Linked DNA regions of Homo sapiens: regions 1, 3 and 4 are each linked to region 2. The links are contacts of gene promoters, found by promoter capture Hi-C in blood cells and fetal thymus (Javierre and others, 2016). All regions are on one chromosome and are shown on one strand. The core of a region is centred on a gene start or on the middle of the fragment in contact, and the rest is flanking DNA. Distances in the headings are between cores, read along the strand shown. Region 1 overlaps MRPS21 (mitochondrial ribosomal protein S21). Region 2 holds the start of VPS45 (vacuolar protein sorting 45 homolog). Region 3 overlaps CA14 (carbonic anhydrase 14). Region 4 has its middle 26 kb from the start of ANP32E.

What was found. The method cuts DNA at HindIII sites, captures the fragments that hold promoters and counts their contacts. A CHiCAGO score of 5 or more calls a contact.
Region 1: a fragment that was not itself captured here is called in contact with the fragment with the promoter of VPS45 in region 2 in 2 of 17 cell types (naive CD8 T cells and total B cells); the score reaches 5.3 in naive CD8 T cells.
Region 3: a contact is called between a fragment that was not itself captured here and the fragment with the promoter of VPS45 in region 2, in 12 of 17 cell types (naive B cells, neutrophils, total B cells and 9 more). The highest score is 10.3, in naive B cells.
Region 4: a fragment that was not itself captured here is called in contact with the fragment with the promoter of VPS45 in region 2 in 17 of 17 cell types (megakaryocytes, erythroblasts, neutrophils and 14 more); the score reaches 21.8 in megakaryocytes.

The regions. Positions count from the first base shown.
Region 1 is chr1:150,299,520-150,302,660 of GRCh38, reverse strand. The region is part of intron 2 of MRPS21 (mitochondrial ribosomal protein S21); the gene reads right to left. Among named protein-coding and RNA genes, the nearest start is that of MRPS21, 7.2 kb to the right of the region's middle. The HindIII fragment of the contact is 1,328 bases long and covers 732-2,059 here.
Region 2 is chr1:150,065,923-150,069,227 of GRCh38, reverse strand. It overlaps VPS45 (vacuolar protein sorting 45 homolog), which reads right to left and starts at 1,452. Exons shown (of 15, transcript NM_007259.5): 1 at 1,278-1,452; 2 at 464-598. The coding sequence starts at 1,370. It also overlaps a transcript of OTUD7B not described here. RefSeq lists an enhancer at 1,496-1,825 and a silencer at 2,036-2,275. The HindIII fragment of the contact is 1,692 bases long and covers 1,134-2,825 here.
Region 3 is chr1:150,262,719-150,265,672 of GRCh38, reverse strand. CA14 (carbonic anhydrase 14) reads right to left here. Exons shown (of 11, transcript NM_012113.3): 6 at 2,803-2,869; 7 at 2,474-2,631; 8 at 2,254-2,374; 9 at 1,994-2,014; 10 at 1,795-1,879; 11 at 595-1,080. The coding sequence ends at 1,014. It overlaps APH1A (aph-1A gamma-secretase subunit), which reads left to right. Exons shown (of 7, transcript NM_001077628.3): 7 at 1-269. Among named protein-coding and RNA genes, the nearest start is that of SNORD13C, 2.5 kb to the right of the region's middle. The HindIII fragment of the contact is 1,864 bases long and covers 462-2,325 here.
Region 4 is chr1:150,209,171-150,212,023 of GRCh38, reverse strand. It overlaps the pseudogene RN7SL480P. Among named protein-coding and RNA genes, the nearest start is that of ANP32E, 26 kb to the left of the region's middle. The HindIII fragment of the contact is 5,688 bases long and covers 1-2,853 here.

The DNA.
Region 1 (3,141 bases), core at 146-2,645, 230 kb before region 2:
GATCAGCCTGGAGTTCGGGCGCCTGGCAACCTAATACTGAAGGAGAAACCAGCTGCCAGTTTTAGTGAAATTCAAATGATTATGTAAAAGGAGCCAAGCTGCCTGGAGCGGGGGGAGGTGCGGGTGGCAGACTCACATGTCAGTGTAGCCAGTCTACGTCAGGACAGACGTGTATGCAGAAGGACTCAATGGACCCAGAAGGTAGCCCACTAGGAGTAAAAGGAGTCAACAGGGCATGCTTCCAGTGTACTCACCTTTCTTTGCTTGGGGGCCAGCCAATCATGCAGGGCTTCCTAGCAACCCCCACTCTCCACCTTCTCATCCCGGGGCACCAATGAGGGCCCCCAGTTATATAACAGGCATTTTGTGGTGGCCTCACTGGACAGACACGTAGGCTATTTCCTTTGTAAGACTCTCTCTGTACTCCAAACATGGTAAAGCTTTAATCACCTCCCTCTAGACTCATTTGCTCTCCTACCTATTGTTGTAATTAGACCACAGAACAAGCAAATTATTTTTAAACTACCAGCTATGAGAAAGCTGAAAGAGATCAGGAGAGGCCTGGAGTGTGAGAAAGATATACAGAAAAAGTGGCTAGAGAGAGGACATTTGGGAAAAGCAGAGAAAAAGAAGAAACAGAAAAGTGCATCAGTCAGAAAATGTGTTTAACAGGCAGCAGGAAAACAGAAGATTGGATCACTCCAAAATCAGTCTGCTCACGTATGCAAGCTTGAAAGTCCTTACCTAGAAAATTATTCTAAGAGGCCGGGCACGGTGGCTCACCCCTGTAATCCCAGCGCTTTGGGAGGCCGGGCGGGCCAATCATGAGGTCAGGAGTTTGAGACCAGCCTGGCCAACATCGTGAAACCCCGTCTCTACTACAAAAAATTAGCCGGACGTGGTGGCAGGTGCCTGTAATCCCAGCTACTCGGGAGGCTGAGGCAGGAGAATCACTTGAACCCGGGAGACAGAGGTTGCAGTGAGGCGAGACCACGCAGTCTGGGCAACAGAGAGAGACTCCGTATTAAAAAAAAAAGAAAGGAAAAAGAAAATTATTCTAAGACTGAAATATTTGTTCATTTCCCCCCTGCCCCGCGAAGCTATAATACAATTTATGGGACTCTGAGTCTATGGGACTTGAATTTCTTTTCCTTTTTTGAGACGAAGTCTCGCTCTCGTCCCCCAGGCTGGAGTGCAATGAATGGCGCGATCTCGGCTCACTGGAACCTCCGCCTCCTGGGTTCAAGCGATTCTCCTGCCTCAGCCTCCTGAGTAGCTGGGATTACAGGCACCTGCCACCATGTCCGGCTAATTTTTTTTCTTTTGAGACGAAGTCTCGCTCTCGTCCCCCAGGTTGGAGTGCAATGGCGCCATCTTGGCTCACTGCAAGCTCCGCCTCCCGGGTTCACGTCATTCTCCTGCCTCAGCCTCCCGAGTAGCTGGGACTATAGGCGCCCGCCACGGCGCCCAGCTAATTTTTTGTATTTTTAGTAGAGACGGGGTTTCACTGTGTTAGCCAGGATGGTCTCGATCTCCTGACCTCGTGATCCGCCCCCCTCAGCCTCCCAAAGTGCTGGGATTACAGGCATGAGCCACCGCGCCCGGCCAATTTTTGTATTTTTTTTAGTAGAGACAGGGTTTCATCATGTTGGCCAGGCTGGTCTTGAACTCCTGACCTCAGATGATCCACCCGCCTCGGCCTCCCAAAGTGCTGAGCTTACAGGGGTGAGCCACCGCGCCTGGCCAAATTTATTTTTCTAACCACTCCTCTTCTTTCTTAAAAAGAAAAGAATATAATTCTTTTCTTTTTAAGCAATGTAAATTGCTTTTTTCCAAATCCTACTCCTACTTTGGTGTTTTAATCCCTGAAGAAAAGGTAATACTGTGCTTCTTAACCAGGGTAATTAACAGAATGCCAAAGGATACAAGTTTCTGGACAAATTTGATGCATCTGCCTGGAGGCACCAATTTTAACTCGAAGGAGTGGGGGTGTTACCCATAAAACAGATGCAATGGCAACGAATACGAAGTTCACCTTACATTTTAATTTAGGGAAGCTTCAAAGAAATTCCATGTTTGCTTATAGTAGCAGAACCCCTATAGTTCATTCACTCTCCTCTGCTGTTAACGACACTTCAGTAAAAAAGTTTGACAAACATTAAATAAGTGACAAAAAAGATAAAGGAACATTTATGTTCATTAAGTAGACATTTAATGAGAGCTTTGGATGTGCCAGACACTTTGGTAAATCCAAGAGATACACAAATGAAAAAGCATAGGTTTCTGTCCTTAAGGAGGCTACAAGCCTTTTTTTTTTTGAGACAGGGTCTCACTTTGTCACCCAGGCTGGAGTGCAGTGGCGCGATCTCGGCTCACTGCAACCTCCAGCTCCCAGGTTCAAGCGATTCTCCTGCCTCAGCCTCCCGAATAGCTGGGATTACAGGTATGCACCATCATACCCGGCTAATTTTTATATTTTTAGTAGAGACGGGGTTTTACCATGTTGGCCAGGCTGGTCTTGAACTCCTAACCTCAAATGATCCGCCCCCCTCAGCCTCCCAAAGTGCTGGGATTACAGGCATGAGTCACTGTGCCCAGCCAGGAGGCTACAAGTCTATTATAATAATTTTCAATCCTGGTGAAATCTCATGGTATGTTTTTTAAAATGCTGCCATCCAGGTTGCAACCCCTGGAGATTCTGATTCATCTCAGATTGGGCCCTGGCATTAGTTTTGTTTTCTTGATGGTTCGTTCCCTAGGTGATCCTAATAGGCAGCCAGGGTTGAAACCACAGGGTGTCACACTGACCACTCTCCGGCTCTCTAATATTAACACTTCGACCCAGGAAATAGGTTTGTGTAAAATGCCAGTCACCAACAAAAAGAGAACCATAAAAGTAGTATGTGGGCTGGGTGTGGTGGCTCACACCTGTAATCCCAGCACTTTGGGAGACAGAGGCGGGTGGATCACCTGAGGTCAGGAGTTCGAGACCAGCCTGGCCAACATGGTGAAACCCCGTCTCTACTAAAAATACCAAAACTAGCCAGGCGTGGTGGCAAGTGCCTGTAATCCCAGCTACACGGGGGGCTGAGGCAGGAGAATCACTTGAACCTGGGAGGCGGAGGTTGCAGTGAGCCGAGA
Region 2 (3,305 bases), core at 203-2,702:
ATCAAACCAACAAAGTAGGGCTTTAATGGCTGGGCTAAATATAGATTTAATCATGGAAGTAACATCAAGCCACCACAGGTTCCTGAGCATAAATGTGAATAAAGTGGCAAAGATTCAAGACACTCATAGCTGTATATAAAATTAAGTGTTGATGGTGTTCAATGTGACAGATACGGAGGTTAATCCAGGAATAAAGTAATGTGGGTCTCCGTTAAGAGTAGTTCATTAGTGGCAATGGGAATGGCTGTGAACCTAAAAAACATCTTGAAGGAAGAACTGGCTGTAAGGGGTCAACTGAAATATGGAAACAAAACAAGAAAAATGAAGGTTATAACACTGATGAACCAGGATAATTATGATGCCACAAATTATGATAATACAAATTTATTTTGCCTTCTTAATGCTTTCAGATCAGAGTGTTCTGCATCTGCCTGGGCAGATGGAAGCTCAGTTTATGCAGTACCTTTGTAGGTCGAAGAAAACAAATTGCCTTCAGGTGTTTCATGATCTCTCGATTTTGAGAATCAATGCGTTCAAAGAGGTACACTTCCTTCTGTAGAATCTCCGATTGTGTGTATACCATACTCACTATGCCAGTCTGTAAAAACAAAAGATTAACTAAAAGTATGCTAGTCTAGAATAATAAAAACAAGTAGCACATCTAACCCTCTTTTTTCATTAATACTTAGCTGGATAACTTAAATAGTAATATACGGAAAACATTTACTGAACATCCAAACAGGTAGGTAACATACGAGAATGAAAAATACGCTCTATCCTTTCAGCTGAAGCTTCAAGATTAAAAACAAAAAACATGGTCTCTTTGAACAGGAACAATCCATAAGTTTCCAAAAATATTTTTTTCTATCACCTTAAAGAGTTTTGTTTTCTGGTCTGTGGCCAACAAATAATCTGTCATTTCAGCTTGAGCTCCAACAGCTTTACTTTAAAAACACAATGTTGAGTGGAAACAGTAGGCCCATCCCAAAGCCTTCCAAGTGCTCTGACATATTAATGATTTCTTGGCGGGGACATTTAGAAAAGGATTTCTGATTCCAATAAATTGTTCCGGGTAGAAGTAGTCTCTAGGCAGTGGCTGGAGCCATGTAGACTGAAAACCCACCGGGCAAGCTTTATATAAACAACTTTTCAATTCCACACAAACCGACCCTCATTTTCGTATGTTTAATTAAATGCTAAGTCCTACAGTGGAATGGGACGAGCAATTGTAAGGTTGAGAGGGTTCCTTCACAAATGCTGAGCAAAAGCAAACTCACCGTCTCTTTATCCATGAGAAGTACTTTCATACCAGGCCCGCTGTCCTCTATCATTTTGGAAATGTACTGCTTCACAGCAAAAACCACGTTCATGGCGGCGAATTGACAAGTACCCTACAGCCCTTCCCGCCCCCTTTTCTGGCTAAATTAACCCCCAGTCTGTTGGCCGGGTCTCAGCTGCTTCCTCCCAGCCGGGATTCGGCTTCCGGGAGTCCGGGCAGCCACGGTGCTGGGAGTTGTAGTTCCGCTGGAGTGTACAGGGGACCAAGCCTACCCCGGGGATGGAAAAATCCGGCTGAGACGGCCTGGGCCGCTGCCACGCGCGGGCGTTATTCTCCACCCACCTGCGGCCTGAAGATGCCTGAGGCCCGGACTCTCAGACCCCTATTGCCCTTTGGTGCTGGAGGCCCAGCGGCAGCCTGAAGCCCAAGAGAGTGGAGCCTCGCGAAATGAGGAACCTGGCACAAGGTTTGCTTGGAAGCAGGAACGACGGAGTGTGGCTACGTGCCCTATTTGCCATTAACGCTTTCTTGCATGGCAGTGAGAGATGAGGGCAAGGGAGGTGGCATAATGCTCCCGGCCGCTTGGGACTCGGAGAGACGGCATTTAATAAATCACACGCGGTATTTGCGAAACAGTGGTCGAGATTCGTCTTCCCGGGTTCATTGCGTCATTAATAGGCGGGAACAGTGCCCCTGTGTTGAGGCTGCAGAGGCCCTAATTGGTTTTCCCAAGACAGAGGGGCATATGAGATTGAACAAATATTTGTTGAATGAATGAACAAAGGGAACGCCTTTTAGGGATGTTTCTGGGGGAAAGGCCTGAGGTTCTCCAGGAGGGTCTGCAGCTAGGGTCGGCCGTGGGGGCTCGCAGCCCGCGGGACCACCGGACCTGCAAGCGTCCCCCTGCCCCGCCCCCGCCTCGGCGCTCTGAGCAATTGGACTCTGCCAGCTCTAACTCCGGCGGGACTCTGAAACTCAGGCAAGAGCCGAGGTGACTGGGTCCTTTGAAATGGGTAGGGGACACGTATCCGGTAGAACTAAAACTAGCGTGGGGATTTGAAGCCAAAACTCTCAAGTTTTTACTGAATCTTAAAACCATCAACTTCCAAATGTCTGCATTTGTCTTTACACCACACAGGTCTCCCCTCTATCATGGCATTTGTCGAAAAGGAGGGTAGATGTTTGTTTTTCGCACCTTTACTTTGGGGAATTGTAAAATCAGGAAGATAATAAGAAACAATTGTTAGAAATCAGTAACTAAAAATGCTTATGAATATTTCCACCAAAATAATGACCAGTGTTTGTGAGGTCAATAGATTCAGGATTACCAAATAAATTCTTTCATTATATTTTAAGAAGTACACAGTTAAAATAGACCAATAGCACTTTAACATTAATCAGCTTAAGATTATGCAATATTATATATAATTCTCAAATCCCTTAAGGGAGATCAGAAACTACTGAAATATAAGAGATTTTTGTCACCTCTGAAATTGTGAAGAATATGTTTTTTTTCTTTCAGCTTTTCTACCAAGTAAATAAAGCTTCCCTTTAGGCATTTTACTAATTTTTAGATGTGTTTTGAAAGAAAAGTCTTAAGTTATATATTAAAGTGAAAATGTGAATCTTTAAATGGATACAAGAAATGTTATATGAACATTCCATTCTTATCAATTTAAATGTTCGTATCTTACAGAAAACATGGAAACAACGCTAATGAAAATCCTGTAAATCCTGTAAATTACTGATATTTGAAAATTCACTGCCAATCTCCTATGTCACTTGGTTTTTATTTTTCTTACCTATAATTTAGATTGCAGTATAGAAGATTTTTCCCCATTTTCTGTGCTTTTTTAAGAAAGAAGGAGATAAAGACTTGTCTATGAAATTCGTGCCTTTTTAAACAATAGTCAGTCTGTAAGCAATAGATGGAAAGAATCTTTATCCTTTTGATGATTTATACTTGGGCACATAACTTTTTGAGGGACGAGGAAAATACCTACTTGACACTTACTAACTCATTCCA
Region 3 (2,954 bases), core at 144-2,643, 200 kb before region 2:
CTCCTTAACCACCAGCATCCCTCCTCTCCCCAAGGTGAAGTGGAGGGTGCTGTGGTGAGCTGGCCACTCCAGAGCTGCAGTGCCACTGGAGGAGTCAGACTACCATGACATCGTAGGGAAGGAGGGGAGATTTTTTTGTAGTTTTTAATTGGGGTGTGGGAGGGGCGGGGAGGTTTTCTATAAACTGTATCATTTTCTGCTGAGGGTGGAGTGTCCCATCCTTTTAATCAAGGTGATTGTGATTTTGACTAATAAAAAAGAATTTGTAATTGTGGGGGAACTTGGCTTTTAAGGGAGGGGATAGCATGTTAATTGAGATTTCTGTCCTCAGATCTCTCATCCAGCCACTTTCCTAACCTGGCAACCACTGATTTCCAAGCATAGCCTTGGTGCAAGGGCAGAAATCTGGGCTAGTGGTTTAACATGTCTGAAACTTTGGGTTAAGTGTCTTCCCAGAAGCTTATCTTTCCTTCCAGGGGTGGGATAAAAGGAGTTAATCACCCATGCTTCTTTTCCCCATCCTTTGCCCATCTTTACCACCTGAGGGATTCAGGAACTTGCCCACCCTCAAGAGCCTCAAAGGATAGGCCAGAATTAAAGTCAGAAACTTTAATTTCCAAATATATTGATCAAAAATATACAACTTCAACAGCAACTCTTTATCCTAAGGAGAGATCCCGCAGTATATCTAGGGAAAGGGCCATAAAAGTGAGGGGGTAGAGGACTTTGGGGTATATCCCAAACTTCCCCTGCAACTAAACAGAGTTTGTTCTCTGCATTAACAACACAGCGATTTCCTCATTTCCTCCTACATGTTTGGAGAGGCTGAAGGCTCTGCAGTTCTTCCTGGAATGACAGCCTGGGTCCATTCCTCTCTAGGAGATGTCCAGGGGAAGGAGGACATCTGCTTACTACTCCTACAGTGTTTCTGGCCAGATCCTACACCCCATTTTAGAGGCTTCCTGATAGGCATGAAGGGAAGTCATCCACATCCATGGTATCTGAGAAGGAATTTATGCCTCAGTCGTGGCTTGTGCTGAGGTGAAGACCACACTCTTTCGGTTTTCCAGCCTCTTCTTCCTGGAAAGGGGAATGGCTCATGAGAATGACTGCTATCTAAGTGAAGCAGATTAGAGGTGAAATAGGAGAATGCTTTTTAACAGAAAAGAGGGCTGGGCAAGGTGTTTCACACCTATAATCCCAGCACTTTGGGAGGCTGAGGCGGGCGGATCACTTGAGGTCAGGAGTTGGAGACCAGCCTGGGCAATGTAGTGAAAACCCGTCTCTGCTAAAAATACAAAAATTATCTGGGCATGGTGGCACATGCCTGTAGTCCCACCTACTCAGGAGGCTGAGGTGGGAGGACCACTTGAGCCCGGGAGGTGGAGGTTGCAGTGAGCTGTGATAAAGCCATGCACTCCAGCCTCGACAACAGTGAGAACCTGTCTCAAAAAGCGGGTGGCTCATGCCTATAATCCCAGTACTTTGGGAGGCTGAGGCAGGCGAATTGCCTGAGGTCAGGAGTTTGAGACCAGCCTGGCCAATATGGTGAAACCTTGTCTCTACTAAAAGTACAAAAATTAGCTGGGTGTGATGGTGCGTGCCTGTAGTCCCAGCTACTCGGGAGGCTGAGGCAGGAGAATTGCTTGAACCCAGAAGGCAGAGGTTGCAGTGAGCTGAGATTGCACACCACTGCACTCCAGACTGAGTAACAGAGCAAGACTCCGTCTCCCACCTACCAAAAAAAAAAAAAAAAAGAAGAAGGGACTGGAGGAATGGAAAGTAGGGCCTCACCGAATCTTTCTAGCAATGAAATAAACAGCCAGGAGAAGGCAGAGACAGCCAACCAAGATTCCTACACCTAGACTCAGCATTTCACCTGGGGGAGATAAAGGTAAAAGGTGTCAGCCTAGGACTAACATAGATTTTGAGCCTTTCCCCCACTCGGTGAGGACACCTCCCCTCCCCGCATTATCTTATAAGGCTGGCTTACCTGTGGTATACGAGGATCCTGCTGTAAGAGAAGAAAATGGGTCAGTGGGACTTCAGATCCCCATCCCAGCTGGGAGCAGCACTCTCTGCTGCTGTGCCTGGGAGAATCCCCCGGGGGCACCCTGGGGTGGGGGTTGGTTCCCAGTCCAAGCAAGTCCCAGAAACCCCCTCCCCTTTTAGCCTTTTCTTCCCATTGGCTCCCTAGTTCCTGCCATTGTGTCCCCCTCAGTTTCCCATCTCTTCTGAGCCGTGCAGAATCACCTTGGATGAAAGAAGCAAAGACCATGCGCTGATTGAGAGGCTGAAGGGCTCGGTAGTTCTGTACCAGAAGCTTAGAGGGCTCCTCTTCTGTGGAGAACAATGTCCCCTGAAGCTTTTCCAGCTGAGGAGCAGAAGCGTGGGAGAGGTGTTACTTTGGGGAGTGGGAAGGGGTCTGAAGTTACAACTGTGTCTCACCTCACCTCGTTTCTCCACCACTTACCTGTTCCATTGAAATCTGGGACCTTCTATAAAAAACTGTCCAGAGCACACTCTGGTAGCAAGGGGGAGTTGTGAGCGAGCCATTGTAGCGGAAGTACTGCCCCAGCTGTTTGGGGAGCAGCTCTCTTAGGTTGAAGGGAGGCACTGAGGTCTTCTGATCTGGGGAGAACAGACTGGGACTCATCTTCCTTTCAGTGTGCCCTAGCTTACCTAGATAGGGCTCCCAGAAGCAAAATTCCTTGGCTCTATGTAATTGCTTCATCCCAAGGCTTTTAAGGATAGTTTTTGAAAGTCTAATCTTACTTCCTGCTATAGATTTTTAAGGCTCACCTTTATGCCTGACTTCATGCAAGTGACTCAGAATGTGTTCATAAGCTATATTCTTAGTCTCACCCACCTGGAAGAGAAGGAAAGGGAGAGAGTTTGGAATGAGTCCATGTTTGGAATAAGAAATTTATGTACAGAATAAATGGTCAGGGTGG
Region 4 (2,853 bases), core at 145-2,644, 140 kb before region 2:
ACAGTTACATGTTTCTATAGAATTAGCATATGTATATATATACGCTCTATCTATCTATCTATCTATCTATCTATCTATCTATCTATCTATCTATCTAGAGAGACAGGGTCTGTTACCCAGGGTGGAGTGCAGTGGCTATTCACAAGCACGATCCTGCTACTGATCCGCACGGGAGTTTTGACCTGCTCTATTTCTGACCTTGGCCAGTTTACCCCTCCCCTTAGGCAACCTCGTGGTCCCCTGTTCCTGGGAGGTCACCATATTGGTGCCGAACTTAGTGCGGACACGCGATCGGTATAGCACACTACAGCCCAGAACTCCTGGGCTCAAGCCGTCTCCTGCCTCAGCCTCCCAAGTAGCTGGGACTACAGGCACGGGACACCGCGCCTGGCAAAGTTAACAAATATTTAACTGCAGTAAAACTAATGTCAGTAGTTTCTCAGGCATTTTCATTGGCTTTTACAAAGTCACAAAATTGGGTAAAATGAGGGCCATTTACTTTATTTAAAAAAAAGAGGCCGAGCGCTGTGGCTCACGCCTGTAATCCCAACACTTTGGGACGCCGAGGCAGGTGGATCACAAGGTCAGGAGTTGGAGAGCAGCCTGGCCAATATGGTGAAACCTCGTCTCTACTAAAAAATACAAAAATTAGCCGGGCATGGTGGCACGTGCCTGTAATCCCAGCTACTCAGGAGGCTGAGGCAGGAGAATCGCTTGAACCTGGGAGGTGGAGCTTGCAGTGAGCCAAGATCGCGCCACTGCACTCTGGCCTGGGCAACAGAGTGAGACTCTGTCTCAAAAAAAGAAAAAAAAAAAAAAAAGAGATGAGAATATTCTTGGATTTTAAGAAGCCAAGATTTTCTAGTGGGTAATAGCATTTCTCAGAAAAGACTTTTTCTTTTAACAGACTAAATATTTAGGAAAACTTTTTTTCTTATATTGAGGGATTGTATTTTCAGCATTGTTTCGATGTTGCCGCAATATTTTAAAAAATACTTATTAGCAGGTGGAGATGATGTGAATTTGTTGTTTACAACCCGTAGGATATTGAAGAGCTACCTGCTGAGAGAGGAGCTGCTACCATCTGGTCTCTGCTATGAGGCCAAAGCACTACATTGGTCCCATGATAAACCTACTTTTCTTTTTGTGTCATTTATTTTCCTTTCCACTGCTATTCTATATCAGCCTTGAGGTTGCTATTGGAGTTGAGGGACAAATAAGAGGTCATATAATGTAGGCCATCGCATAATGATGAAACATCAATTCTGTGGTCTGTCTCTAAGGCTCTGTCCTTGATAATAAAATACAGTGTGCTGTAATGGTTATCAAGTTTCCACTCCATATTATTAGGTTATTAGCTATTAATTAGATATCACTTGCCATTTTTACTTTACATGACTGTAAATAACTGCTGTCTTTCAGATCTTCATGTACTCAATCTTTACAAGCGGTTTGCAATTAACATATTAAGAAAAAAACCATGGAGAATTATGTGCAAATCCTTTTCAAGGCAAGCAGTCTTACAGCTATGATCAAAGGCATAAAATGTAGAATATTTAACAAACTTTTAAAATCCTTTGTTTAAGGAACATAAGTGATAGGAAAACAAATATGAATGATACCAACTCTATCCCTTGAAAAACAGCCTAAACCCAAGATTATAAACCAAGAGCGAAATTGCAGGCAGAGAAATGGCTGAGCTGACAGCTTGTGCCCAGAAAGCTCAGAAGATGCCAAAACTTTGATTTGCTCACTTCAGTGAAGGCGTGATCCTTCATTTTGCAGGGCTATAGAAGGAGATGTATTTGAGTTTGTAAATACAAAATCGATCAATATGTGAGGGACAGACTTGTGCCGTGAAAATTCACCAAAGTCAGATTTCTAAATCAAGTTGTCAATTTATTAATTTACAGGGAGAATGTATATTTACATTGTTTATGGTATTATTGTTCAGTGTTCTAAATTGGCGCTCTTTAATAGACATATAATTCTGTCAAAAATGCAAGTTGGTGGAGTGCGGTGGCTCTCACCTATAATCCCAGCACTTTGGGAGGCCAAGGCGGGTGGATCACCTGAGGTCAGGAGTTGGAGACCAGCCTGGCCAACATGGTGAAACCCTGTCTCTACTAAAAACACAAAAATTAGCCAGGCATGGTGGTGGGTGTCTGTAATCCCAGTTACTCGGGAGGCTGAGGTAGGAGAATTGTTTGTGCCTGGGAGGCAGAGGCTGCAGTAAGCCAAGATCGAGCCACTCTACTCCAGCCTGGGTGACAGAATGAGACTCTGTCTCAAGAAATAAATAAATAAATAAAATAAAAATGCAAGTCACAGATGTATTTAGAATTTTCTAGTAGACATATTTAAAAAACTAAAAAGAAACAGGTAAAATTAATTTTAATGTATTTTAATTAACCCAACATATTCAAAATATTATACTTTCTACATGTAATCAATGTAAAAAATCATTAGTAAGATGTTTTGTATTTTTTTCATGCAAAGTCTTCCAAATCTGGGATGGATTTTATGCTTACAGCAAATCTCAATTCAGATAGCCACTTTTCTTTCTTTCTTTTTTTTTTTAACAGAGTTTTATTTTTATTTAGTTACTTTCTTCTTCTTTTTTTTCTTTTTATAAAGATAGGATCTCACCATGTTGCCCAGGCTGGTCTCAAACTCCTGGGCTCAAGTGATCCTCCCTCCTTGGCCTCCCAAAGTGCCTGGATTAGCCACATTTCAAGTGCAGTAGTCATGTTGCTAGGTGAAGGTCTCGTGTATCCCTTCTAGGAAAGGTAACTGAGAGGCCAAGTGCACAATCAGAATCCTCTCAGGTGAGCATAGAAGTGGAGGAGAGGG